7 separate regions of the Homo sapiens genome follow, and all the other regions are linked to region 5. Evidence: promoter capture Hi-C in 16 types of primary human blood cells and fetal thymus (Javierre and others, 2016). All regions are on one chromosome and are shown on one strand. The core of a region is centred on a gene start or on the middle of the fragment in contact, and the rest is flanking DNA. Distances in the headings are between cores, read along the strand shown. Region 1 has its middle 6.1 kb from the start of ATP5F1B. Region 2 overlaps BAZ2A (bromodomain adjacent to zinc finger domain 2A). Region 3 overlaps GDF11 (growth differentiation factor 11). Region 4 holds the start of BAZ2A (bromodomain adjacent to zinc finger domain 2A). Region 5 holds the start of SMARCC2 (SWI/SNF related BAF chromatin remodeling complex subunit C2). Region 6 overlaps BLOC1S1 (biogenesis of lysosomal organelles complex 1 subunit 1). Region 7 overlaps PTGES3 (prostaglandin E synthase 3).

Region 1 (3,857 bases), core at 482-2,981, 460 kb before region 5:
TTCATCCCTTATCTATAACCATATAAGACACACACTCCCAGAGCGGCCATTTTAGAGACCTCCCCCTGGGAATGCATTCTCTTTCTCAGGGCTGTTCCTTGCTGAGAAAAATAACTCAGCGGTATTACTCCTATTCGCTTTTGTAAGAAGAGAAACATGACTCTGTTCTGTCCGGCCCCACAGGCAGTCAGGCCCAATGGTTATCTCCCTTGTTCCCTGAAAATCGCAGCCATCCTGTTCCTTTTGGATGTCCAGATTTCATATTGTTCAAACACACATGCTCTACAAACAATCTGTGCAGATAATGCAATTATCACAGGATCCTGAGGCAACATACATCCTCAGCTTATGAAGATGACGGGATTAAGAGATTAAAGACAGGCATAGGAAATTATAAGAGTATTGATTGGGGAAGTGATAAATGTACATGAAATCTTCACAATTTCTGTTCAGAGATTGCAGTAAAAACAGGCGTAAGAAATTATAAAAGTATTAATTTGGGGAACTAATAAATGTCCATGAAATCTTCACAATTTATGTTCTGCTGTGGCTTCAGCCGGTCCCTCCGTTTGGGGTCCCTGACTTCCCGCAACAATAGGGTTTCCATTTTTATGAGAATCTAATGCCATCACTGATCTGACAGGAGGCAGAATTCAGGTGGTAACGTGAGCAGTGGGGAGAAGCTGTAAATACAGATGAAGCTTTGGTCACTCGACCACAACTCTCCTCCTGCTGTGTGGCCTGGTTCCTAACAGGCCATGGACGGGTACTGGTCTGTGGCCCAGGCACTGGGGAACCCTGCATTATATGTATATGAAACAGAAAGTGAGTGGAATGTATGCAAAAAGTTTTTTCAATGGTCATTTTTGGGAAGGACAGTGGAAGTTTTGGAAGTAATGGTGAAAGAACTCATCCTGTACACCTAGAATATGTTCATATGTTACTTGTGTAATAAATAGTGCTTCCAAATTGTGACCTAAGAAAGGAATATTGGATTTCTGAAAGAGAATATTTCAACTTGGGAATGGCTGTGGAAGTAGGCTGCTTATGTGAAATGGGAATGTGAAAAACTAATTGGAATTGAAGTGGTTGAGGATCTCTGAAGCCAGGGCATTGAATGGGTTCTTTTCGTGGAATTTGAAATAATCCGGGATGATTGTCAAGAAATGTAGTAGAGACCAAAAAAACACATTCCACCAATTACCAGAGTACTGGAAGGATGTGGGGGTATGACCAATGTGGATAGCAGTAATGAAAGGATTTGGTGGAAAATGTAATTTTCACTTCAAGATGAATTTTAAATTACAGAGCACAGTCATTTGGAATTAACTTCAGATAAGAAACCAGATTGGGTGGGTCTGTGTGGTTCCTATTCCCCTGTGAAAAATAACTTGTACTTTTTTTTTTTTTTTCCATTCAGGTTCCATTTATTTTTGACATTTTTACATAACCATCCTTGCAGGGGTAACTCCTGCATCACTCTAGAACTTCAGGTTCCGTCCCTCTCCCTCTCCCTCTCCCCCTCCCCTCCCCCTCCCCTCCCCCTCCCCCTCCCCCTCCCCTTCCCTCTCTCCATGGTCTCCCTCTGAAGCCGAGCCGAGGTTGGACTGCACTGCCGCCATCTCGGCTCACTGCAACCTCCCTGCCCGACTCTCCTGCCTCAGCCTGCCGATCGCCCGGGACTGCAGGCGCGTGCCGCCACGCCTGACTGGTCTTTGCTGGAGTGCAGTGGCATGATCTGGGCTCGCTACAGCCTCCACCTCCCAGCCTCCTGCCCTGGCCTCCCAAAGTGCCGAGATTGCAGCCTCTGCCCGGCTGCCACCCCATCTGGGAAGCGAGGAGCGTCTCTGCCTGGCCGCCCATCATCTGGGATGCGAGGAGCCCCTCTGCCCTGCCGCCCAGCCTGGGAAGTGAGGAGCGCCTCTTCCCGGCCGCCATCCCATCTGGGAAGTGACGAGCGTCTCTGCCTGGCCGCCCATCGTCTGAGATGTGGGGAGCGCCTCTGCCCCGCCGCCCCGTCTGGGATGTGAGGAGCGCCTCCGCCCGGCCACGACCCCGTCTGGGAACTGAGGAGTGTCTCTGCCTGACCGCCACCCCGTCTGGGAGGTGAGGAGCGTCTCTGCCCGGCCGCCCCGTCTAAGAAGTGAGGAGCCCCTCCGCCCGGCAGCTGCCCCGTCTGGGAAATGAGGAGCGTCTCCACCTGGCAGCCGCCCCGTCTGGGAGGGAGGTGGGGGGCAGCCCCCGCCCAGCCAGCCGCCCCGTCCGGGAGGGAGGTGGGGGGCAGCCCCCGCCCGGCCAGCCACCCCGACTTGTACTTTATATAAAATATCACTTGGACAATCTGGGTCTCAATCAAGAAATACGTAGGAAAGGCCGGCCGCCGTGGCTCACGCCTGTAATCCCAGCACTTTGGGAGGCCGACATGGGCGGATCACGAGGTCAGGAGATCGAGACCATCCTGGCTAACACAGTGAAACCCTGTCTCTACTAAAAAAAATACAAAAAAATTAGCCGGGCGTGGTGGCGGGTGCCTGTAGTCCCAGCGACTCGGGAGGCTGAGGCAGGAGAATGGCGTGAACCCGGAGGCGGAGCTTGCAGTGAGCTGAGATCGTGCCACTGCACTCCAGCCCGGGCAACATAGCAAGACTCCATCTCAAAAAAAAATATGTAGGACAAAAACATGTTACAACTCTAAAATAGATTACATTATTTATTCAGAATGCTGGTTAAGGCATATCTCAATCTGAGCTAATCAAGCTTATTCTATTTTAGACATTATTACTTATATTAATAAATTTAACTGATTTCAGAGGAGAGGGAGAGGAGGTTGTTAAAGGCCAACATTGATAGCAACAGAGTGAGAAAAATTAAGAGTTCACAAACTTCAGCTTAATGGTCTCATGGAGAAATAGCTCTTTTTTACTTTTAACTTTTTTTTTTTTGAGATGGAGTCTCCCTCTGTCGCCCAGGCTGGAGTGCAGTGGCGTGATCTTGGCTCACAGCAAGCTCCGCCTCCAGGGTTCACGCCATTCTCCTGCCTCAGCCTCCCGAGTAGCTGGGATTACAGGCGCCCACCACCACACCTGGCTAATTTTTTGTATTTTTAGTAGAGACGGGGTTTCACCGCGTAAGCCAGGATGGTCTCAATCTCCTGACCTCATGACCCACCTGCCTTTGCCTCCCAAAGTGCTGGGATTACAGGCGTGAGCCACCATGCCCGGCCCTTTTTTTTTTTTTTTTTTTTTTTAATAGAGACGGGGTCTCCCTACATTGCTCAGGTTGGTCTCAAACTCCTGGGCTCAAGGAATCCTCCCATCTTGGGGTCCCAAAGTGCTGAGATTACAGGCGTGAGCCATGGAGCCCCACCTCATTAACACTGAAAGCATTTAGCATTGCAATGTGATAAAAAGGTTTGTTGAATGAATAACCCTAATACCCAAGAAAAGTTAAATTACTTGGTAATTTGATAAGAGGACAAATGTGTGATACATTTCAAAAAGTGATGATCTTCGGTTACCTGGTATGAATGTTTTTCTTAGAAACTTGGATTAAGAAATGTCACCAGGCGCGGTGGCTCACGCCTGTAATCCCAGCACTTTGGGAGGCCTAGGCGGGCGGATCACGAGGTCAGGAGATCGAGACCATCGTGGCTAATATGGTGAAACCTCGTCTCTACTAAAAATACAAAAAAAAAATTAGCTGGGTGTGTGGTGGCAGGCGCCTGTAGTCCCAGCTACTCAGGAGGCTGAGGCAGGAAAATGGCATGAACCCGCAAGGCAGAGCTTGCAGTGAGCCGAGATCATGCCACTGCACTCCAGCCTGGGCAACAGAGCGAGACTCTGACTCAAAAAAAAAAA
Region 2 (3,547 bases), core at 1,000-3,499, 420 kb before region 5:
GGAATCCCCCTTCCCTTTACCATGTCTTTTTCTAGTCAGTGCTATTACTTTGAGTTTGTTTTGGTAAAGTTGCTTGCCTACATATCTGTAACTGACCTTTTCTTTCTTTCTCTGCCAGGTTTGAATGGGGATGTGAATGTTAATGGCTTATCTACTGTATCTCACACTACTACTTCAGGGATTTTGAACTCTGCTCCCCACTCCTCCAGCACCTCACACCTCCATCACCCCAGCGTGGCCTACGACTGTCTCTGGAACTACTCACAGTACCCATCTGCCAATCCTGGCAGCAACCTCAAGGACCCACCCCTTCTCTCCCAGTTCTCGGGGGGACAATACCCACTCAACGGCATCCTTGGGGGCAGCCGGCAACCTTCATCCCCAAGTCATAACACTAACCTTCGGGCTGGGAGCCAAGAGTTCTGGGCCAACGGTACCCAGAGTCCCATGGGGCTTAACTTTGATTCACAAGAACTGTATGATTCCTTTCCTGACCAGAATTTTGAGGTGATGCCCAATGGACCCCCTAGTTTTTTCACCTCCCCACAGACTTCTCCTATGTTGGGATCTAGCATTCAAACCTTTGCACCCTCCCAGGAGGTAGGCAGTGGTATCCATCCTGATGAGGCAGCAGAAAAGGAGATGACTTCAGTTGTGGCAGAGAATGGCACTGGCTTGGTAGGCAGCTTGGAGCTGGAAGAAGAGCAGCCAGGTATAACTGGGTTGGTGAACTGGGTGGGGAAAGGAAAAATGGAGCTCGGGGGGGATAGTGGCTTTTTGAGGTGAGAAAAACTTGTCTTTCCAGCTCTCTGCAGTGGAGGCTGATTTGCATGTTGGTGATTAGCAATTAGCAGAGCCAAGTGGCTGGTGTTTTTGTGGCAGCAGCACCAGCTCGCGAGTGGGAGTGCAAATTATTTCAAGCTCATGCAGAGCTTCTGGCCTGGAGAGGGCAGGTGGGCGAGCCCGAAACAGCCCCAACAGACACCCTGCATCAAGAAAGGCTTCTTTCAAAATATACGGAGTGGTTAGGGTCTAGCAGCGGGCATTGAGGCTGTTTTAACTGACTGTGGCAGGATCAGACTGGCTGTTAAAGTCGTCTGAGCCCAATGTAGTGATTGGCATGCGAAGGAGGGAAGGAAGCAGGCAGAGCATATCATTATTTGTCTACTCAGTTTCCTTTTTTTTGTTGTTTAGCATTAGTACACGTGACAGCCCCTCTCATCTTTTCCCTCAAAATAGATAAAAGCTTAGCTTCCAGTTGATTCCTGGTACAAGGGTAACCACCACTCTGTAAAATTACAGGATGTTTTCTCGTTTCCCAATGGATGGAGGAGATATCTGAGAACATGATAGAGATGTTGTATCAGACCCCACTCTCTTTTCCTCTCTTTGCCTGCTGTAGGATTGATTTTACCAGCACATCTCTGCTCAGAGTATCTTGATGTGATCGGTTCCCAGCAATGAACTGGCCGCAATAAATGTTGAATGAATGAACATCCTTCTAGCAAAGATTGACTGCCTAGTATAGCTAAGTGAACCAATATAAGGCACTGATTTTGACTTTTGGTCTCTCCTGTGATTTCCTAGAACTGAAGATGTGTGGCTACAATGGCTCTGTCCCTTCTGTGGAATCGTTACACCAAGAGGTCTCAGTCCTGGTCCCTGACCCCACAGTGAGCTGTTTAGATGATCCTTCACATCTTCCTGATCAACTGGAAGACACTCCAATCCTCAGTGAAGACTCTCTGGAGCCCTTCAACTCTCTGGCACCAGGTAGGTTTGGAGGCTATGTCCCTTTAACTTATCCATGCAGAGTAGCCAAACTTTACCTGAAAGAGACAGTAAAATGGGAAAAGTATTAGGCAATCAGGGGCACTGGGGCTTCCAGGTAGGCCTAAGGCAGACCACAGTTACATGCCACAGGACTTGGTGCCCTAACTGAATTCTGAGCTGAATTGGTTCATGTCCCAGGTTCTTTCCCAGTATTCCTTTTGGCCAAGAGCTCTGGGCTGTAATAATTCACTGGGTAGGGACTTATTATCACACAGTTGATCTTTCTGGGTTCTGACAAACTAGGAAGAAAACATTTGTCAGTGAGCAGTTACCTTTTACTCCACTGAAGTACAAGAAAGACATATTTTATGATAAATCCTAGAATTTTGCATAGGTCTCTGGGTAGATAATACCACCAATGCCTTTCCTTTCATTTTCACCTTGTAGAGATGAGGTCTTGCTATGTTGTCCAGGCTGGTCTTGAACTCTGGCCTCAAGCAATTCTTCTGCCTCGGCCTCCCCTCAAACTTTTATGATCCCTATAATCTCATGACTACTCTTTCAGGGAGAAGGCTTTACTTGTTACCTAACTTAATATTAGGAAGAATCTTCACATTGTGGGAACTAGAATTGGATGTTTTCTGACCAGTGTTTCTTAAATCTTGCTTTCTGATTTTTTTCTCATTATCCTGCTCTGATTTTTCTACCCTTGTAAACAGAGCCAGTGAGTGGAGGACTATATGGTATTGATGACACGGAGCTGATGGGTGCAGAGGACAAGCTGCCTCTTGAGGACAGCCCTGTGATTTCTGCCCTTGATTGCCCTTCCCTCAATAATGCTACTGCCTTCAGTCTCCTGGCAGATGATAGTCAAACATCAACCTCTATCTTTGCCAGTCCCACCTCTCCACCTGTCCTAGGGGAGTCTGTCCTGCAAGGTAAGTGACGGTAGGTAGGACAAAGAAAGACCTTTACCTGAGAAAAGATGAGAGAATAAGTTTCATAGTTAGGGCCTTAAGAGTGGGAAATCTGGCTGGGCGCAGTGGCTCACGCCTGTAATCTCAGCACTTCGGGAGGCCGAGGCGGGTGGATCACCTGAGATCAGGAGTTTGAGACCACCTGGCCAACATGGTGAAACCCCGCCTCTACTAAAAATACAAAAATTAGCCAGGTGTGTTGGCACATGCCTGTAATCCCAGCTACCTGGGAGGCTGAGGCAGGAGAATCGCTTGGCCCCAGGAGGCAGAGGTTGCAGTGAGCCGAGATTGTGTCGTTGCACTCCAACCTGGGCAACAGAGCAAGACTCCATCTCAAAAAAAAAGTAGGAAAGCAAGAGCACCTTGCTGGGAGCTGAGGGGCTATGGGATAGTGTATGGTGGAACTAAAAGAGGTATAGGCTGCTATACTCCGACCTGTGCCCTCTGCTTTGAAGAACTTGTGAGACTTGGAATTTGTAGGGAGAAGGAGGCTAGAAGCTTTATTGGCACCAGGTAAAAGGTATTTCTTCACACAATGACATCTGTAGCAACTTTACCCTTTAATCCTCATGATTGGTTGGGAGAAAAAGCTACTTCTTTTTCCAACCCTAGGGAAGACCCCTTGAAGTAACCCTGTTTAGCTTGGTCCAGGGTTGACTGAGTAGATTCTCTTGTTTTATGTGATGCCTTTTTTTTTTTTAAAGCCTATCCTGTCCCTTTGGATTCTAGATAACAGCTTTGACCTGAATAATGGTAGTGACGCTGAACAGGAAGAAATGGAAACTCAATCTTCAGAC
Region 3 (3,945 bases), core at 197-2,696, 440 kb after region 5:
AGGGGTCTTGGGGTAGGGTCTGTGGGGGAGGCATCCTCTATCCCCCACCTTAAGAGCAGCCACAGCGATCCACCACCATGCCAGGGATCTTGCCGTAGATAATCTGCTGCTTGTCATTGAAGTAGAGCATGTTGATTGGGGACATCTTGGTGGGGGTACAACAGGGCCCAGCAGAGCCTCTTGGATTGGCCTGCTGCACCAAATGGGTATGCGGATATTTTTGCATGAACATGTACTCGCACTGGCCGGAGCAGTAGTTGGCCTTGTAGCGCTTAGGTGCGATGATCCAGTCCCAGCCGAAAGCCTCAAAGTCCACTGTGAGGGGATATCGGCAGCAGCGGGACTCGCTTGAGTGCTCGTCGCAGTCCAGACCCAGGTTCCGCCGGGAACGTTTTGTGTTCTCTAGGACTCGAAGCTCCATGAATGGATGCTGAGGGTCAGGGAGAGGGGAAAGAAATGTGATATGGTCCTGAACAGTTCCTCTTCCCTGTTCCTTTCCCACCTGCCAGGGGCATCAGAATAGAGACTGCTGACTTCTCAGCTTTTCCATTGCTCCCACCCCCAGAATTTATCTTTTGCCCACTTTTCTTGCCAGCTAGCTAGCTCTCCTTCAACTCACCATCTCTAATTCTTACTCTTCTGGCAACCTGATCCCTGTCAGCCCCTTGGCCCAACGCCTCAACAGCCAGTTTTTTTGTTCTCACAGCTCTTCCATTAACTGACACCTTTACCTTCAAATCCAGTTTTCAGCTGTTGTCTGATTTGGATCCTTGAGAAGTAATAGTTGCCACCCCACTCCTCACCTCCTCCTCTAGAATCAGCTGCTGACCCCAGAGAAGTAATGCTGGTCCCCAACCTCCTTCACATTCCTTGTCTACCTTTTCCAATGTAACCCTATCTCCTCAGGGCCAGGTTACACATATCCACCACCTCAGGCCCCCTGCTCACCAGCCCCTCGGCTCCCGGCCCCAGGGAGGTGACAGCCAGGTCTGTGCCACTGGGATCAAAGGCGTTGATCTCGATGCCCCAGTTGCTCTGTGGCTGGCGGAACCAGCTGTGTAGCACTTGCTTGAAGTCGATGCTCTGCCAATGGCCTGAGCGTGAGTGCAGCTCAATCTTCAGTGAGCGGATACGGATGTGACGCCGGCCTCCGCCCCCTCCCCCTGCGGTCCCTTCCCCAGTTAGGGGTTTTAGTCGCAAGATCTGCAGGTAGACTGTGGCTGGGCGGGGTACAGGCCGTAGGTACACCCACAGCTGGGCCTTCAGTACCTTTGTGAACATCACCTTGGGGCTGAAGTGAAAATGGCAGCAGAGAGGGCTGCCATCTGTCTGTACTGCTGGGTCCGCTGATAAGAGAGAAGGGCACAGCATCAGCAAAGGGTGTTTGTGTAGGGGATCAGTAGTCCTGGGTGGCACTGGCAATTTTGGACTTCTCAGCCTGATTTTCCAGTTCTTCTTTACCCTTCTCCCATGCCTATCTTATACCATGTCTCCGGTACCTAAAACAGCACTTCCTCTTTAGGATGATGGCCCTATAAGGCCTTACTGATCTGTGTCCATTTCCTAATCCATTTGCCCTAATATATAGGTTCCTGTCTACCAGATAACCTGCAAAATTATTCATCCACCACCATCCTTACTGTCCAACTTTTCCCAGCATATAAGGCTCCAACATTTTCTGAATCTTTGAAGCTCTTTATAGAAGCCATACCTCTTATCACACCTGCTGCCCTTCCATCACCTTTCCCCTATCTGCTCTGATTTATCTGCTGGACAGGTAGAGCCTGGCACATCCCTCCCCCACAAAATAACACAGATGGCCTCAGAGAGGGGATAACCCAGGGTCCAGATAGGGAGCATGAGCTAAATTTATCCCATTATGTAAACCAGAATTCAGATCTAGGCTTCTTGCCTCACTCCCATTAGGAATAACACCCAGCAAAATGGAACTATCCAAGCACTTCCTATACATCTGTCTCCCCATTCTCTCTTAAGAAGTTTCTTCAGCTGCTGCTCCATCATCATCACCATGACTGCCCCCAGCTCTTGAGGAAAGGAATAATTACCTCCATGGTGTTGCCTCCTATTTGCCTAAAGCACCAGAAATAATATTAAATACACCAGATTAACTACAATGCCTTTTTTCTCCCCTGAGCTTCCTTTGACTTCTCAGTCTAGTGCCAGTAGGTCTTTACAAAGTTTGAACATCCCAACTTTACATTTTGACCCATTTCCCCTTGCTCTGGACCTTAAATTGATCCTTCTTGGGTCTAATAGATGATTCTCAATAAATATCTGCCTCTGCCTCCATTCCAGCTCCTCTTCACTGCCTTTCCTAAGTCAGTTGGGAGTGTCCTACAACATGTCTCCATTGGACAGAATATGTCTATCCTGACTCTAGATAGGAAGAATCAGGAATGAGCTTCCAGAGCCATATAAGCAGGGTTAGGAAGTCTAGGCCTTTAAGTATCCTCCCCATGTCTTGAGTTCTGCAAAATCAGGATGGACTTAGGGTGTCCTGTCAGCTCTTCCCCACCCCCACCCTGGGAGAAAGAGGACCTTCTAAGGGAGATGAGGAGAAAGTGCTTAATGAACTTCATATATTCAGGATATGATACCCAAAGTCTCTATAGCTTTTTTTTTTCTTGATTATTCTCTGAGGTCCCAGGGCCCTGGTAGTCCAGTTATTTTACTGGCTGGAGCTTCAGTGATGGTGCAATGGAGTAGGGTTTGGGGGGTGAGAATTCAGAGATCAGAAGTAGCTGGGATAGGGAAGCTACTAGTGAGATGGGGAGTGACAAGCAACATCCCAAATAGCATACTTTACAAATTTCAGCATAAGAATTGTCTATTTTCTTGCCATTAGGTACTAATCTCCATGAGAGTGGACACTGTTGTTATTCATACTGTGTCTGTTTTGCTCACCATTGTAGCTTCAGTGCCTCCCATAGTGCTAGACAGCACTCAATAAATACATGGTGAATGAACTCCCTAAACTCCCAATCTTAAATTATACAGGCAAGTGCCTGAAAGTTCTTCCTGGCATCTAAATTCTGTTCTTTGGCTATAATTGAAGTGGGTTTAATCACTGCCTGATTCCTTACTAACCACTATCTAACCTTACTCACCAAACTTCTCAGTGTGATACAGATAATAATAATTCTTGCTTCACATGAGTGCTGAGCATTAACTAGAGAATGTGAAAATAGGAAACAAACAAACCAACATTTATTGAGAAGCTACTACTATTTTCGCATTCTCTACTAAGCTCTAAACATAACCCTCCCTCTACCTAAGCTGATCCAGGGTTTGAAGATGAGGGCTACATCTAAGTCTTTGGTTCCACATACTTGTCCCAGTGGACAGGGGACAGTCAGTGCTACAAGGAGGTAGAACATAGGGAGAAAGAAAAGAGCAGGGAGAAGAGCCAGGGGAGAGACTGGAGATGGTGAGGGAGATAATAGAGAAGAGACTGTTAAGAGTTGAAGGCATATTAGTAGATATAGGGAGAGAAATAGAAGTTAGAGTGGAAAGATGCAGGGGATAATCATGGCAAAGGGAGAATAAGTTTGAGAGTTTGAGAATCCTGATGCAGAGGCAGTGATAGAAAGGAGTGGGTGATGGTTAGAAAGCTAAAGGTGGGAGGAAGCTAAACCTAGTGGGGTAAAGGAGAGAAAGGATAGAAAGGGTACAGACTGAGGAACAAAGGAGAAGCAGGTAGAGCCACAGAGGGAAACGGGGCTCGAGAGAGTACCCAGCACACATATGCCGAGCTCTGATGGGGAGGAAAAGGGGCCACATCTGTGTTGAATTGATCGGGCTGGTGGCAGGCAGCAGGTCAGGTTTAGTAGGCGGCGCTGGTGGGAGAGAGAGGTCACTGCACTATTTTCAGCAAATGCCCAACCCCCTCCCTGCACACCACCTCCCCTTCCCCCCACCCTAACC
Region 4 (4,041 bases), core at 408-2,907, 440 kb before region 5:
GTGGCCCACACACTCTGTGAGCCTTTGCTAAAGCTAGCTTCCTTCTTATCCTCTCTGAGCCATTTGTAGTGGGGGGGTGGAGGGGTGGAGTCTTTCCCCAAAATTCAGGAAGAGCCCACCCCTCTGTGGAGTAAGGAAATCCAATGTAGACTGATGGATCTCACCCCCCAACTCTGCCCATTTTTCAGATCTCTTTCCTCCTCAGACCCCCAGAGGAAAACGTATTTGTTGACACCCCAACTTGCCAGAGTTTCATCATCCCCACTCTGTTGCTTTTCCAGAATATTCAGCAGCCTGAGCTTTGCACAGTTTAGGCAACTGTTTCTAGAACTGCATTGCATTGAATTAAATGGGAATTATCTTCAAGGCTGCAAAGTGTTGAGTTGCAAGGAAAGGAAACCTGGTTTCCTTTCTTGTCATATTTTATCCACTGTTTGACATTGAAGAAGTCATTGAACCTCTTTGGGTCTTAATTTCTTCATTTGATGAAGGAGAGAAGGTTGAACTAGAATTTTTTTTTTTTTTTTTTTTTGAGATAGAGTCTCCCTCTGTCACCCAGGCTGGAGTGCAATGGCGCGATCTCAGTTCACTGCAACCTCCACCTCCCAGGTTCAAGCGATTCTCTTGCCTCGGCCTCCTGAGTAGCTGAGATTACAGGGGCACGCCACCACACCCAGCTAATTTTTGTATTTTTAGTAGAGACCGGGTTTCATCATGTTGGTCAGGCTGGTCTTGAACTCCTGACATCATGATCCACCTGCCTCGGCCTCCCAAAGTGCTGGGATTACAGCCGTGAGCCACCGCGTCCGGCCTGAACTAGAAATTCTCTAAGCTCTAACATCATATGACACTGTTCTTCATCCTGGTGCCCTGCAGTGGACATTTTAGGTGACAGCCAAACTCTAGTCCTCTGCTAGATTTTACTTTTCTGAGTTTTCACACAGTTATGTAGCCCTGTCAGAAAAAAATTCCCAGAACCATAGAATGGGTGGACATTTGTGGCATCTTTTTGCTGATTAGTTTTCAGCTTATCCTTTACTTCTCTGACTGCATTTAGGCTACACTCAGGTCTTTGCTGTCTGGTTCCAGAGCCGAACCTTCTTTCCCCCACGCACAGGAATCTTTCCTTTCCGGTGACCAGGGCCCTGCAGATGTCGCCAGGAAAGTGGTGATCCAGGCAGGACCAGGCTGCACTGAAGGGACAGAGGTGAGTGGGTGGCTGACTCTTGCCTCTCCCCATCCCTTTACTGAATCGCGACCTGAGTGACTAACCTTTCTATTTCCACGTTTCCATTACCCTACCTGGGAAATAACTGCCCCCGAAATTCCCCTGACTCTTACCCCTACCAGCCTGTTAGAGAAGTGGCACCTGCCTTTGGGCCTAGACGTTTGGTCTAGTCTTTTAAGTTAACCTTGGGACTGTGGCATGCCTTTCAGTTTGCCCTGTGTGAAGCAGGACCACTGCCTCCATGAGATGCGGGTGCAGAGGGAGCTGCCAGGTGGGCAAGGTGGCCAGAGTTGCAGGAGGCACAGCGGCGCTAGGACCCAGGTCCGGGTCGGAAAGATGGGCTGGCGGGCTTTAGGACCCTGTGGCGGAGGCCGCGTGGGGAGACTCTCTCCCGGCCGAGGCTTCTCCGCCCCCTCCGGCTCCGACTCACTCCTCCCCCGCCGGCCATGTTGGCTCCTCTCGGGCCCCGCGGTTGAGCCGCGTCCCCCTCCCCCTTCCCGAACCCCGGACCCCAGACCCCCTCCCCAGCGGGCGTCTCCACCCGTTCTGGCGCCCGGAGCGCGGCCATGTGAACCGCTTGTACCCCGGGGAGAGACGAGCCCCGAGCCCGGCTGGACGCCGCTGCCTCAGGTTTGTGGGGTCTGTGGCCAGGGGCCTGAGGGGGAGGGAGCCCCGCTTTCATCCGAGGCTTCCCTCGGGGAACAGAAGCTCCAGAGCCGGCTTGAGCCTTGCCGGGGCGGGAAGCCGACGGGAGCTTATTTCCTGCGAGGATCCAACCCGAGGCGAGGGTCTCCTTGCTCTGGGGTCTGGGAGGAGAACAGGGCTGGTGGGGCTGCTGAGGACCCCGGACGGGGCCGCGGGGGCAGGAGGAGCTGTAGGGGCTCCCGGCGACAGTGAGGAGGCGGAGAAGCCGCCTGGCTGGTGGAGATGACTCCTGTGGGGGACTTGGGGTGGAATCCCCGGGAGGGGCTCCACCTCCTCGGGTGGGGGTGGGGATTGCCTGAGCGCGAGGGGTGGGTGAGGGGGTTCCCTTGGCGGGTTAAAACGCTCCGTTTGCGGGGAGCTGGGCGTTTTGACTGTGGTGAGTGGAGGGCGGAAGGGGTTTCCAGGGGTCTGAGGGTGTCTCCCTCGGGGAGCGCACCCATTCTCTTGAGCGTGAAGATCAGGAGAGGGCCTTCCTTGCTGAGGGTGGTGCTGCGCTTGGCTTGGGGCCCTCGCGTCCCGGGAGAATCGCGCACTCCGGGGATGGAGGTTGATAGGGCTTCCGCTGAGGCTTTCCAATTTGAGCTGGGCTGAGGGGCAGAAGGGAAGAATAAAGAGGAATTCCTTTTTCCAAGGAGATTCCTCACTGAGGGGATCCCCGCTTCCGTGGCAGAAAGATGATACCGCATCATCCCTTTCTTTCCCGGTGTTCCCAGTTTTCAGGAGAAGGCAATGTCAATAGCAGTTGTCCTTTGTAGGGTTAATTGGAGTGAGAGATTTGTCTGCTTTGGGGGACGACGGAGGGGATAGCTTTCCACCTCTATCTGTACACAAACAGCCCCTCCCCCAGCCTCCCGCAGGAAGTGGCCGGGAAATGGCAGCTGTGCGTTTGCTGCTGCGTGTCTTGTTGTTTTGAAATGTCCATTTTAATCAGATTTGGTTTCATTTTCTGAAGCCTTCTGGGCAAGCTTGGATCTTGCCAACCATGTGGCCCGAGAGACCTTTCGTTGGACTTTTTTTTTTTTTGTAAACTTGTCAACTGGAAGTAGTCAACTTCAGTTGACTCACGTATCCCAATCCCTTCTCCAGAACATCTCTGTCTTCCTGTCTGGTTTCGTTTTGTTTTCCCTTTAGCTAGAGGTCATAGAGAAGCAAACTCAGTTATCTACCAGCGGGGTACGCTCTATGTAAGTGATGCAAATTCCCTCAGCATAGAGAGCTGTCAGGGAGACTAGAGAGCTTTTGTGGCACGAGTAGCTTCTTGGGGTCCTACTTTAGTATAGTTATTATGACAGTTTCTATATTGCAGAGCACCTGAGCAAGTGAGCTTGTGAAGAAGGGTAGATTCTAAGAAATGGACGAAGAGGAAGGGGTGAGGAAGATTTAACTATTAGATGGATTTGTGTGTCGGGGGTAGGGACTGATTAACAGACTGAGATTGGTGAACTCAGTCCTTGGTGGTGATTCTAGCCTAAGGGCAGCCCCTGTGGGAAGCTTGTTATTTGACTAAGGGGTGCTGGAGATACTACCTTCTGCAGAATCAACTAATTAGAATAGTACAGTTTGTTATCATATGACTTACTCTTTAATCCATAAAAGAACGTCTCCCCTCTTATTCTTCTTGGAGATTGGTAAGCTTTTCCTCTGTTCCCTGCAAAGTCGTGCCCAGATTTTTTTTTTCTTTCTTTTCACTTGATAATCCCAGGATATTTCTCCTGTAACATATAGTGATGGACTGTGTGCTATGTCCCCAGGCATTTTGTGGCACACTGGATTTGGTTAGGGGCAACAGTTGGCCACAGAATTTTATTTTTCTTTCTTTTCTTTTTCTTTTCTTTTTTTTTCTTTCTGTCTTTTTTTTTTTTTTTTTTTTTTGAGACGGAGTTTTGCTTTTGTCGCCCAGGCTGGAGTGGTGTGATCTTGTCTCACTGCAACCTCTGCCTCCCGGGTTCAAGCGAGTTGCCTGTCTCAGCCTCCCGAGTAGCTGGGATTACAGGAGCCCGCCACCGCATCCAGCTAATTATTTTATTTTTAGTAGAGACGGCGTTTCATCATGTTGGCCAGGCTGGTCTCGAATTCCTGACCTCAGGTGATCTACCCACCTCGGCCTC
Region 5 (3,539 bases), core at 453-2,952:
TCCCTTCTAGCCCTGTACACCTCAAGGAAATCCAGATGAGAGAATCCTGTTTCCTGGGTCTTCGGTGTAATCAGACCTACAAGGTGTGACTTCTGGTCATGAAATTTAGAGGAAACTCTAAGTTTGACTAATATTGCAAAACAGCCACTCACATTCCCAAAATGTAACCCTTCAACCAAATCCTTCCCTATGCCCTCAAAAGAATGAGACATGTGCCAAAGCTCTCCCAGGAAGCCTGAAGTTACAAAATTCTGAAAATGCCTCACAGTCTAGCAGCCAATACAGTCGTGCATAATTAAACTTCCCAAGATCACTCCCATCCTCCCAAATCCAGGGGTTAAGACCTTTTGGCGGCTTCCCTTTTGGAGAGAGAAAGTGCACGAAAGAAACGTGTGAGAACTGGGGTTACCTTTATGTGCTGTGAAAGGGGTTAAAAAAGTCGACGCCTGTAATCCCAGCATTTTGGGAGGCCGAGGCGGGCAGATAACCTGAGGTCAGGAGTTTGAGACCAGCCTGGCCAATATGGTGAACCTGTCTCTACTAAAAATACAAAAATTAGCCAGGTATGGTGACGCATGCCTGTGGTCCCAGCTACTCGGGAAGCTAAGGCAGGAGAATTGCTTGAACCCGGGAAGCGGAGGTTGCGGTGAGCCGAGATCGCGCCACTGCACTCCAGCCTGAGCAACAGAGCGAGACTCCCTTTTAATAATAAGAAGAAGAAAGAAAAAAAAAAAAAACCCGTCACGAACAGGATTCGAACCTGTGCGGGGAAACCCCATTGGATTTCGAGTCCAACGCCTTAACCACTCGGCCACCGTGACTTCCAAAACCGCGCTTTATCGCGCGCTTACAGAAGGGGTCCGCACTGCAATCCGGGAATGCGTGCGGGAACCGGAAGCAGGGTACCGGCCCCGACACACACACACCTGAGGACTCCCCACCCCTCGGTTCCTTACCTCCTATCTACGCCACCCAAAGAAAAAGAGTCGGATGGACTGGGTGACCCAGGGAGGGAGGGTCTCCTGCCTAGCGAAGAGTCGGGGTCTCGAGTAGGAGCTCACACCTACTTAGGAGGCGACAGCGAGGCCTGCGGAGGAAGCAGTTGAGGGAAGGCACTGGGCCGCCAGGGTGGCGACTAGGGGACATTTGGGTTAACAAGTGAGGGGAGTGCTGGGTGGACAAGGCGCGAGGAGTGAGGGAGACTCTGAAAAGTTTAAATGGGGAGCTGCTGTGAATGGATGGAAGGAAGGAACTTCTTGGGGAAAGGGGTTTGGGGTTTTGGGGGACGAGGGGCTTCGTCGGGTTAGGAATGCGCAAGGTGAGGACCACTCGGGTCTACGGGTTGGGGCTGCTCCAGCGACTGGCGGCCGCCTGGAGTGGGATAGCGAGGTGACACTCCCGAGCTGAGGCAAAAAGAGGGAAAGGGCTTCGCGTCTGGTAAGAGCGATCTCAGGAGAATGGCGCCCCCTCCAGGAAGCGTCCTTCTCCCCGGAGGCTCCCGCCTCCGCTGCCGGGGAGGCCGCCAGGGTCGGCCCGCGCCTGGAGCTCCGCCGCCGCGCCCGGCCTGCCGGCAGGGGGCGCAGCGCGGACCGGGGCCGGCCCAGGCGGCGGGAGGCGGCGGCCGCGGCGGCGGGAGGCGGCGGGAGGCGGGCGGAGGAGGAGGCGGAGGAGGCGGGAGCTGAGCTGAGTGGGGCGGGCGGCGGCGGGGCCCGAGCCGGAGAAGATGGCGGTGCGGAAGAAGGACGGCGGCCCCAACGTGAAGTACTACGAGGCCGCGGACACCGTGACCCAGTTCGACAACGTGCGGCTGTGGCTCGGCAAGAACTACAAGAAGGTACGCGGGCCGGGCCGGGCCGCGCGGGGACCGGGGGCGGGACAAAGGGACCGCGGCCCTGCAGCCCCGGGATCCTGCCTACCCTCCAGGCGCCCCAGCCCCTCCCCCGCGGCCTCCCAAGCAGCCCCCCGCGCGCCCTCCTGCGCTCCCGCGCCCCTCCCCCAGCCTCCCTCTCCCCGCACCCCCAGCCTCTGAGCCCAGCCCCCGCCCCCACTGCTGCGCCCTCTGCCCCTTGTTTTTCTCTACTGCCCGGCGGGCCCCGGTGCCATTAGCCCACCTTCCCCTCAGCCATCGCCCTCCTGGCTTTTCTGGGAGAGGCGGCCGGCCGGGTGTGGACCGGGTGCCCAATGGGCTCCCCCGCAACCCGGAGCGTGCCCGCCAGAGCTCCCCACGGAGCCAGGTACCAGCGGGGCTGAGGCCTCTCCGGTGCTTTGTGTATGTTCAGAGAGAGAGAATGGAAAGCAGGAGGGTAAACAGTCACAGAGCAAGCCGTTGGCTGCTCATCAGCCTGAAAAAGGTCTCCACCCAGGGATCACCTGTCTCCGCCGCTCATCCCCCACCTTCATCTAAGGGGCAACAGAATCTCTCAGGGAGCCGGGGTATAGGAGTTCCTGGGTAGCGGCCCCTTCCGAAACCTTTCCTCGATTTTACAATGAAGTCACCTTGCAACCTAGCTTTGCAGTACCCTGGGTTTGGGGTCGAGAGGTTAGGGTGAGCTTCCTATCTCTAGCCCCTCACACCCAAACCCCATAACTGGAGATCATAAGGTGGTGAACAAAAGGTTCAAGAATCCTTACCTGTCTTTTCTACCAAACCTCTTCCTGGTGTCGTCTTTGTCTCTAGGCCTGGTTTTCTCTGGAAATGGTCTGCCTCTCTTTTTCTCACTACCCTCAGAGAGGGATTCTCTTTATGGCTTTCTTTCAGCTCCCCAGTTCTTCCTGCCGGCTTTGCAGCTCGTCAGAAGTGTGCTTAGTGGCTTAGGAGAACTTCCTACTGATGCTGGTTGTGAGCCTGGCCCTGCCCTTGGGGTCTCTCTGGGTGTGAGAATCCTGACAAATAGCTGCTATTTCTATGGCATGTCTCTACGCCTGTGAGAGGCTCTTATTCCCAGGCTTCTACCTTTGACCTTTTGCAGGGAGATCAGGCTAGGGGCTTAGCCTCCGGCCTTGGGGGAATTGACAGTTGTGACCTGGTTCAGCTTCCATGCTCTTAGCTCTTTGTCATTTACCTTTCCCTTCACAGATCTATCTCTTTTCACCTCTCACTGAGAGGCACTGTCTTCTTTGTGATGAGTGGGGAGAAAACGGGTCAAAAAGTAAAAAGAAAGTCTCCTGGCTCAGGTTCAAATTAGAATGGAAGGCTAGGATGCTACTAGGTAGCAGAGTGTGGAAACATAGAAGTAGGGCCAGGGTTACTTGTCTCAGATACAGTTTCCTCGGACAGGGTAGATGTTGTCTTGCTCTTCTCCATCAGGCTGGGTAGTGGATGGCCCTTCCTGTCTAGGAGGGCCTATGAAGACATTTATACCCAGTCTTCAGAAGCAAAATGCACAAGCTCACTCAGTCAACTTGCCCTCCTTCACTTCCTTGTACCTTTTCTTGTTAGGCTACATTATAGGGGGAATCATGGCTTTACAGAGTTCCCCTAAGAAATGTCTCTCTTAGAGCCCCAGAGGTATTGCTTCCATGACCTGAACTTTATAAAC
Region 6 (3,678 bases), core at 721-3,220, 470 kb after region 5:
CACACTAACTACTGCTAAGGCCAAAGTCCGGAGTGGGTGGACTTGGATGCCAGGCGTATTAAGTGTATGTGTGACAGGGTGGGGATAGGACTGAGGAGGAGGAGGAGCCAGGGAGGCTGGAGCTTGCCTGGCTGAAGCCAGGACTTGGCAGAGGCCAGATTTGCCTAGGCTCCCCCCACCCCTTGGCTGTCTTTCTCAGCCTGGGTTCCTGACCATCTATGTCATGGTCTCCAAGGAGGAGGGAGCTGTCAAGGATGGCAGCTGCACTGCTCTGTTGGTAACGGTTACTGGACCTGTCATTCCTCCCCCTTCTCAGCCCTGAAGTGCCCCCAGGAATTAATCTCCCACCTGGCTCAGACTCATGACACTGCTTAGAGTTAGCCTGGGAGAGGCCATGAGCACGTGGAGAGGCAGAAAGCCAGAGCTGGGGACCAGGCCTGTACCTTGCCTTGTTTCTCTTCTGTAGGAAACAAGTCCTGAATTAGGAAGCTTGGGGCAGGGCTACTAGGACCTTCTCTCAGGAGGGATGGGAACTCCCACCCTCTGCTTGCCTAACAGACACCTGCACAAGGGCCATGGAGGAGAAGAGAGTTGGGATAGTAAGAGGAAGCTAGTTCCACCCTCTCCCCAAAAGGTACCTGTCCCTCAGGGAAACCACCTTTGAACCTTCCACTCCCACCCCCGACACTGGAGCTAGTAGCTCTCTGAAACACACCACAGAGAAACGGAGGCTTGTGTTTTATTCAAGGCTTGTCAGCCTCCCTCCTTCCCCCTGCGGGTGAGGTAGGAGGGATAGGGTTGGGGGAGGGAACAGGGGCTAGGAAGGGGCAGACTGCAGCTGCCCTTTGTAGACATATTCCAGTGCAGTGGCAATGGTGCGCATGTCCAGCTCGATGCTCCGAGCCCAGTTCTCCACATCCCCAATTTCCTGGGAAGGGGGAGAGGAGGTGGGAGCCCAGGAATCAGAATGGGTAGAGTATGGCTTCCAGTCTGGGGAATACGTTTTATTCATCTCCTGGAAAAGGCTTTACTTGGACCCACCAACTGCTTTTCTTTCTTTCTCTACCTTTTCTGACACTGGGGCTATAGATGGGGTTTCTGGGACCACCCTACTTCCTCCTTAACCTAAACCTGAGGTAACCTGACTGGAGGCAGCCAATGGGGGCCCAGGATTGGGGTGGTGAGGTAGGGAGTATGGCCCACCTTGAGTGCCTGGTTGAAGTTCTCCACCATTCCGATCCACTGGCCTGTCTGCTTGGCAAATTGGGCAGCCTGGACCTGTAGGGTCTTCACCTCATGGTCCAGCTTTCTCTGGTTCATGTAGGCCTGGGCCACACTGGGGGGTTGGAGGAGGGAGGAGATCAGCTCCAGCTAGTTGGGGGTGGTCTCCGGGACTAATATTCCATTGCAGCAGTGGGAGTTCAGCCAAGAATCAGGGCTCATAATTTTGGCCATTTTTGGATGTGATGCAAATGACTACCAGTACATGCAAATAAACCCAGCTCCTTCCTTTCACTCCCAGGATTCCCAGGAGAGCCAAGCTCGGAGCTGACTAGAAACATACCAGCTCCAAACCCCAAAAAGGAGTTCCTGCAGCTGAGTGGGGGAAGGGAGGGAAAACCTGGGGTGATATCCCTGAGGAAAAAGCTGGGAGGGAAAAAGGGGCATGGAAAAACTGGGAAAATCCAGCAGGAGGAACACATCTGGCAGTGATTGGAAGCCTAGGGATCTATGCAAGAAGTTGGAGAGGGAAATTGGGCCCCTCCCTGAAGCCGGGTTAGGATGGGAGTACAAACCCCCTCCCCAGGAACCCTGGGTCAAAAGAGGGTATCCCAGGGGTTTCTTCTCGGCTCTCAGTTGCTCTCCCAAGCCTTCGCTTTTGCCCACACAGATCAAGGAACACACACAAACACACACACACACACACACACACATGCTCTCCCTCCCTTCTGCCTTAGGCACTAGTTTTTCTTTTCAATCAAGGTATGGGCTGTGGTTACCATTACTACCATGGGGTTGGTGTCCCCAACCTTCTGCCAGTGTTTTTTGCCCTCCCCAACCCCTGCAATAATTGTTCTCCTTTATTGGCTGTTGAATTTTTCACTTCCCACCCCAGAGCTCTACTCAGCCAGGAGATTCCACATCCGGTGCCCCCACCCACTGGAATGTGTGGGGGCTGGAGCGGGGAAGGGGTTGGTGGGGGCTGAGGGAGTGGGCAGGACACCTGACAGGGGCCAAGATAGACTGAGCCTTTGTTTTCCTTTCCGGGGAATGAGAGGAGGCGTGGGCAGCAACACAAAACCCTTTCTAATCTGGCTTTGGCTTAGCTGCCCTCTAAGCTGAAAGTGGGGTGGCATCTAGCAAAGGAAAAGAAGAGGGAAAGGCCTGGGCCAATCTCACAAATGATGGGCACAGCAGAGCCCAGGAGGTGCCAATGTGGGAGGGAGGAAATGGGAGGGCAGACCCTGTTCCTTCTTTTTGGGAGACAGCTGGGTCACTGTCAAGGGTCGGGTAGGAACTGAAACAGACTCCCCTGAGAATTCCTGAACTTCTGGTTTTCCCCATTGACCACCTGCTTCTATATTCACACTGAGTAAAGAGAGCTGCCTGGAGAGAAGGGAGATCAGAGGCCCCAGCCACAACTTTCTTTCTCTCAACCTTCCCCCAAGATGAGTAACAAAGATGACCCCAGCCCCTGCATGGCTCACTTGGATGACTCAGTCTCTGGATTCACACCGAGCTGTTCTACTTGACCTGGGGTGGAAGGTACCATACTGCCTTTCTTCCAATAGGCAGACTAGCAAATCATCATCTCTGCACGCTTCTGGGTCACTTAGGGTCAAGAGACAATGTTCTTTGCTTTTTCCCAAGTCTTTGGCTGTTACTTGCATTCTCATTTAGGGCTGGGGCAGGGTGTGGTCCCTAGAGACCCAATAGGAAGGTAAGAGACAGCCTGGCTCTGCCATAGCTCCCGGAACAGGTTCTACTCTCACCACCACCAGCTCTGCCATCTCTTTCCTGCCAGCTGCTCCCCAGGCTTGCCAGAGGGTGGGAGGCAGAGGAGAGGGTGGTAAGCTGTAATGAAGGAGGGTGCTCTCCCTCCTGCTGAAGTGACAGCTGGACTTGGAAGGGTGAAGGGAGGTGGGCAGATGGCATCAAGTTGTAAATGCCAGGGAAGTTAACGTGGGGAAGGGGAAATCTGGCTGCTTCTCTAACCACGGCAGCTGTTCCTCCCTTGCCCAGTGCTAGGACTCAGAGTTGACTCAAGTTGCTCTACAAAGAGCTGGGAGGGGCGGGGTAGGATAGGGGAATTAGTGGAACATCCCACCCCTTCAACAGCTATTTGAGGGCCAGACTGGCCAGTGCCTAAACTTGGGCGGGGTGGGGAAGGAGGAAACTGATGTTGATAAGAGGTCCATACCCCACATTGAGGTGATCCACCAAAGCTTCTGTCAGGCAGGTCGCTGCAGTGATAGCCTCTCGCCTCCTCTTTTCTGGGGAGAGGGGGAAAAGGAATTGGAGGGGAGACTTGGTTTTTTGAGGGGTAGTGTTAAAGGTTCCCTACCCATCCATTACTATTCTGCTAGTTGCCGAAATTTCTTAACTAATCTCTGAATGCCGGAGCTGAAAAGGACCTTGCAAAACATAGCGCAACCTCTTTCATTTTAGAGATGAGGA
Region 7 (3,638 bases), core at 742-3,241, 480 kb before region 5:
GGATTAGGGTCTATCCTAAGACCTCATATTTACTTGTCATTTAAAGACACTTTCTCCAAATACAATCCCATTCTTAAGATGTACTGGGGGTTAGGACTTCAATGTATTAATTTTGAGGAAACTGATAAAATTCTAGATTGCTGAATTTGAGGAAAGGAGATTGATTCTCCTGGTTTCAGTGAACTTAATGTAAAAAGTGAAGCTCTGATGTACCAGTGTTTTTTGTTGTTGTTGTTTGTTTTGAGACAGAGTCTCTGTTGCCCAGGCTGGATTGCAGTGGCATGATCTCAGCTCACCGCAGCCTCCACCTCCCGGGTTCAAGTGATTCTTGTGCCTCAGTCCCATCCCTCAAGTATCTGGGACTACAGGCCTGCATCACCATGCCCAGCTAATTTTTTTTTTTTTTTTTTTTTTTTGAGACAGTCTCGCTCTGTTGCCAGGCTGGAGTGCAATGGCGCAATCTCGGCTCATTGCAACCTCCGCCTCCCAGGTTCAAGCGATGCTCCTGCCTCAGCCTCCCAAGTAGCTGAGATTACAGGCGCCTGCCACTGTGCCTGGCTAATTTTTGTATTTTAGTAGAGATGGGGTTTCACCATGTTGGTCAGGCTGGTCTCGAACTCCTGAGCTTAGGTGATCCACCCACCTCAGCCTCCCAAAGTGCTGGGATTACAGGCGTGAGCCACCGTACCCTGCTTTTTTTTTTTTTTTTTTTTTTTTTTTCCGTATTTGTATTTGTAGTAGAGTCGGGGTTTCGCTGTGCTGGCCAGGCTGGTCTCTAGCTCTCCTGGCCTCAAGTGACCCACCTGCCTTGGCCTCCCAAAGTGCTGGGATTACAGGTGTGAGCCACTGCACCCAGCCAAGTAACATAATTTTTGATAGGACTAGATAAACGGCTAACTCTACTAAGCATTGTTTGGTTTTTAAATCTTTCCTATTATGAAATTGGAATCATTCTGAAACTAAATCTTGTTAGACCCATAGGTTTTAACTTGGAATGTAGCTGTTAGGGTAAAAATGTAGTTTTTGTTTAAAATTGTAACAAACTGCCCTGAAATAATGCTATAATGGTGTCGAAGGTTAGTATGTGAATGTTTAGTTAATGAATTCCAGCTTGACTTTCCCTACTTTATCCTTTTGTAGGCAGCCTGCTTCTGCAAAGTGGTACGATCGAAGGGACTATGTCTTCATTGAATTTTGTGTTGAAGACAGTAAGGATGTTAATGTAAATTTTGAAAAATCCAAACTTACATTCAGGTAAGTTAAGCTTTTTATCCAATGATGTAAAATAGTCATTCACACAACTGAATAACTTTGACTGGCTTGTCTTTTCATTGAAGTTATTATTAATCTTTGTCTCTTTGAAGAGGCTTAATTCTTTCTTTATTATTTTATACAGTTGTCTCGGAGGAAGTGATAATTTTAAGCATTTAAATGAAATTGATCTTTTTCACTGTATTGATCCAAATGTAAGTAGTCTTTATGCTTTAATCCAAATTTTAGTTGTGAGGAAACAGACATACCAAGTATTCTTTTTAGCAATGAGCATTAGTTCTGTTTTTCTTAACAGTGAGGCAAACTATGTATATTTACATTTTGTAGAATATTTCCTCCAAAATTGGTTTCTGCATACTTTTTGTTTTTGCTATCACTGTTTGGGCTTAGAGTAGTATCCTTGAGGCTCGTCTCATCTTTTTTATTTGTTTTGTTTTTTTGTTTGTTTGGTTTTGTTCTTTGAGACTGCTGCAGTACAATGGAGCGATCCCGGCTCACTGCAACCTCTGCCTCGTAGGTTCCAGGGATTCTCCTGCCTCAGCCTCTGGAGCAGCTGGGATTACAGGCACATGCCACCATGCCTGGCTAATTTTTGTGTTTTTAGTAAAGACCATGTTGGTCAGGCTGGTCTCAAACTCCTGACCTCAGGTGTTCCACCTGCCTCGGCCTCCCAAAGTGCTGGGATTACAGGCATGAGCCACTGCGCCCGGCCAAGGCTTCCCTTATCTAAGAATAGAATCTTTAAACCATTCTGTGGTTATATCATTTTTAGTTAAAGTTTTTAAGGTTTTATTCTGTTTATCGTGTGCAGGAAAGAAAAAAATGGTACCAGGTTAAACTTTAAACTTTATTGTTGTGCAGATTATTTCAGTAGGAAATAGAAGGGAAAAAAAAATTTTTTTTTAAATGAAACTTAAAGGGGGTTGGGGCAGTTGGATAGTTTGAAGTTTTTAGTAGTCAAGGGCATGTTTCAGAGTCCAGAGAAAATTTAGGTAAAGAAATGAGAAAGGTGAGAAATGACAAGCTATTTTCTATCATGTAGTGATGCTGGAAAGATAAATGGTATGATGGTCCTTTTGTTTTTAGGATTCCAAGCATAAAAGAACGGACAGATCAATTTTATGTTGTTTACGAAAAGGAGAATCTGGCCAGTCATGGCCAAGGTTAACAAAAGAAAGGGCAAAGGTAGGTTTCATTTTCCTTTTTTGAAAAGTTTGATATTTTTATTTTAGGTAATAAAAGATGTACTTATTTGATGTAAGGAATATGGCTGTGTTTTTGTTTCACAGCTAAGTATAAAGCCTCATGTTCATGTTTTTTGTCTACTCAGTTTTAATACGAAGTGTGATCAGAATATCAGTTATTAACTGGTGTAGAATCTTTTGTACTTAAGAGACAGACTTTGCATAAATTACTCAGCTATCACATGGGAGGGGACAAAGCTTGGTGAAAAAATAATCAACTGAAAATAGTTCTTACTAGTAAATTTGTTTTCAAAAGGTATGTTTAACAATTTTCAGTGTTTTTTTTCCCCCAAAACAGGGTCTCTCTTTGTCACCCAGGCTGGAGTGCAGTGGCACGATCTTGGCTCACTGCAGCCTCAGTTTCCCAGGCTCCAAGTGATCCTCCCTCCTCAGTCCCCCAAGTAGCTGGGACTGTAGGGGCATGCCACAACACCTGGCTAATTTTTGTATTTTTTGTAGAAAGGGGTATCACAGTGTTGCCCAGCTTGGTCTTGAACTTCTGGGCTCAAGCAGTCTCCCCACCTCAGCCTCCCAAAGTGCTGGGACTACAGGCATGAGCCACGACACCAGCCTAGTCTTTTTTTTTAGGTAGTCTCATGCCACTCATGCCAGAGTGCACTGGTGTGAACATGGCTCACTGTAGCCTCCACCTGGGCTTAAGCGATCCTCCCACCCACCTCACCTCTCCAAATAGCTAGGATTGTAGGAATGTGCCACCACGCCCAGGAAATTTGTTTTTTTGTTTTTTCCCCAGATACAGGATCCACTATTGCTCAGGCTGTCTCGAACTCCTGAAGGATTACACAACTAGTCTTTCCACCTTGGCCACCCAAAGTGTTGGGGTTACAGGTGTGAGCCACCTCATTTAGCTTAGTCTATTCTTTGTGTGCTAATTACATGCCCTCCTAAAAATACAAAGTCACAGTTCAAAAAATATTGTTTTGCCAGGCACCAGTAGCATGTGCCTGTTGTAGTTAAAAGCTACTCTGGAGGGTGAAGTGGGAGAAATACTTGCGCCCAAGTCTGGGTTGCATTGCCATATGTCAGGTAACCACGCTAAGTTAACATCAGTACGGTGTTGTCCCAGGAAGCGGGGACCACCAGGTTGCCTGAAGAGGGTAA

What was found. Contacts are between HindIII fragments. The CHiCAGO score rates a contact against its expected background, and 5 or more counts as called.
Region 1: a fragment that was not itself captured here is called in contact with the fragment with the promoter of SMARCC2 in region 5 in 2 of 17 cell types (total CD8 T cells and naive CD4 T cells); the score reaches 5.8 in total CD8 T cells.
Region 2: a fragment that was not itself captured here is called in contact with the fragment with the promoter of SMARCC2 in region 5 in 4 of 17 cell types (naive B cells, naive CD4 T cells, erythroblasts and 1 more); the score reaches 7.0 in naive B cells.
Region 3: a contact is called between a fragment that was not itself captured here and the fragment with the promoter of SMARCC2 in region 5, in 7 of 17 cell types (total B cells, total CD8 T cells, naive CD8 T cells and 4 more). The highest score is 9.0, in total B cells.
Region 4: the fragment with the promoter of BAZ2A here is called in contact with the fragment with the promoter of SMARCC2 in region 5 in 13 of 17 cell types (erythroblasts, M2 macrophages, total B cells and 10 more); the score reaches 9.0 in erythroblasts.
Region 6: a fragment that was not itself captured here is called in contact with the fragment with the promoter of SMARCC2 in region 5 in 5 of 17 cell types (total CD8 T cells, fetal thymus, naive CD8 T cells and 2 more); the score reaches 7.1 in total CD8 T cells.
Region 7: a fragment that was not itself captured here is called in contact with the fragment with the promoter of SMARCC2 in region 5 in 1 of 17 cell types (total B cells); the score reaches 5.1 in total B cells.

Annotation. Positions count from the first base shown.
Region 1 is chr12:56,650,143-56,653,999 of GRCh38, reverse strand. No RefSeq gene overlaps it. Among named protein-coding and RNA genes, the nearest start is that of ATP5F1B, 6.1 kb to the right of the region's middle. The HindIII fragment of the contact is 2,056 bases long and covers 704-2,759 here.
Region 2 is chr12:56,612,179-56,615,725 of GRCh38, reverse strand. BAZ2A (bromodomain adjacent to zinc finger domain 2A) reads left to right here. Exons shown (of 29, transcript NM_001300905.2): 3 at 119-712; 4 at 1,588-1,773; 5 at 2,493-2,711; 6 at 3,480-3,547. Among named protein-coding and RNA genes, the nearest start is that of BAZ2A, 16 kb to the left of the region's middle. The HindIII fragment of the contact is 2,002 bases long and covers 1,249-3,250 here.
Region 3 is chr12:55,745,987-55,749,931 of GRCh38, reverse strand. It overlaps GDF11 (growth differentiation factor 11), which reads right to left. Exons shown (of 3, transcript NM_005811.5): 2 at 949-1,346; 3 at 1-430. The coding sequence ends at 50. Among named protein-coding and RNA genes, the nearest start is that of GDF11, 4.8 kb to the right of the region's middle. RefSeq lists enhancers at 2,410-2,913, 2,914-3,417. The HindIII fragment of the contact is 9,248 bases long and covers 1-3,945 here.
Region 4 is chr12:56,627,942-56,631,982 of GRCh38, reverse strand. It overlaps BAZ2A (bromodomain adjacent to zinc finger domain 2A), which reads left to right and starts at 1,657. Exons shown (of 29, transcript NM_001300905.2): 1 at 1,657-1,858. RefSeq lists enhancers at 1,351-1,420, 1,451-1,500 and a silencer at 1,721-2,070. The HindIII fragment of the contact is 7,835 bases long and covers 1-2,900 here.
Region 5 is chr12:56,187,646-56,191,184 of GRCh38, reverse strand. It overlaps SMARCC2 (SWI/SNF related BAF chromatin remodeling complex subunit C2), which reads left to right and starts at 1,702. Exons shown (of 29, transcript NM_001330288.2): 1 at 1,702-1,834. The coding sequence starts at 1,724. TRS-CGA4-1 (tRNA-Ser (anticodon CGA) 4-1) reads right to left here and starts at 821; the gene lies at 740-821. LOC107984468 (a long non-coding RNA gene) reads right to left here and starts at 493. Exons shown (of 2, transcript XR_007063330.1): 1 at 1-493. RefSeq lists an enhancer at 1,056-1,155 and silencers at 1,396-1,675, 1,746-1,965. The HindIII fragment of the contact is 5,408 bases long and covers 1-3,539 here.
Region 6 is chr12:55,716,749-55,720,426 of GRCh38, reverse strand. BLOC1S1 (biogenesis of lysosomal organelles complex 1 subunit 1) reads right to left here. Exons shown (of 4, transcript NM_001487.4): 2 at 3,422-3,494; 3 at 1,204-1,336; 4 at 724-928. The coding sequence ends at 818. BLOC1S1-RDH5 (BLOC1S1-RDH5 readthrough) reads right to left here. Exons shown (of 6, transcript NR_037658.1): 2 at 3,422-3,494; 3 at 1,204-1,336. RDH5 (retinol dehydrogenase 5) reads right to left here and starts at 34. Exons shown (of 5, transcript NM_002905.5): 1 at 1-34. RefSeq lists enhancers at 2,167-2,326, 2,437-2,486, 2,587-2,746, 3,677-3,678. The HindIII fragment of the contact is 2,957 bases long and covers 492-3,448 here.
Region 7 is chr12:56,670,568-56,674,205 of GRCh38, reverse strand. It overlaps PTGES3 (prostaglandin E synthase 3), which reads left to right. Exons shown (of 8, transcript NM_006601.7): 2 at 1,141-1,254; 3 at 1,397-1,466; 4 at 2,359-2,457. It also overlaps the pseudogene RN7SL809P. Among named protein-coding and RNA genes, the nearest start is that of PTGES3, 16 kb to the left of the region's middle. The HindIII fragment of the contact is 1,450 bases long and covers 1,267-2,716 here.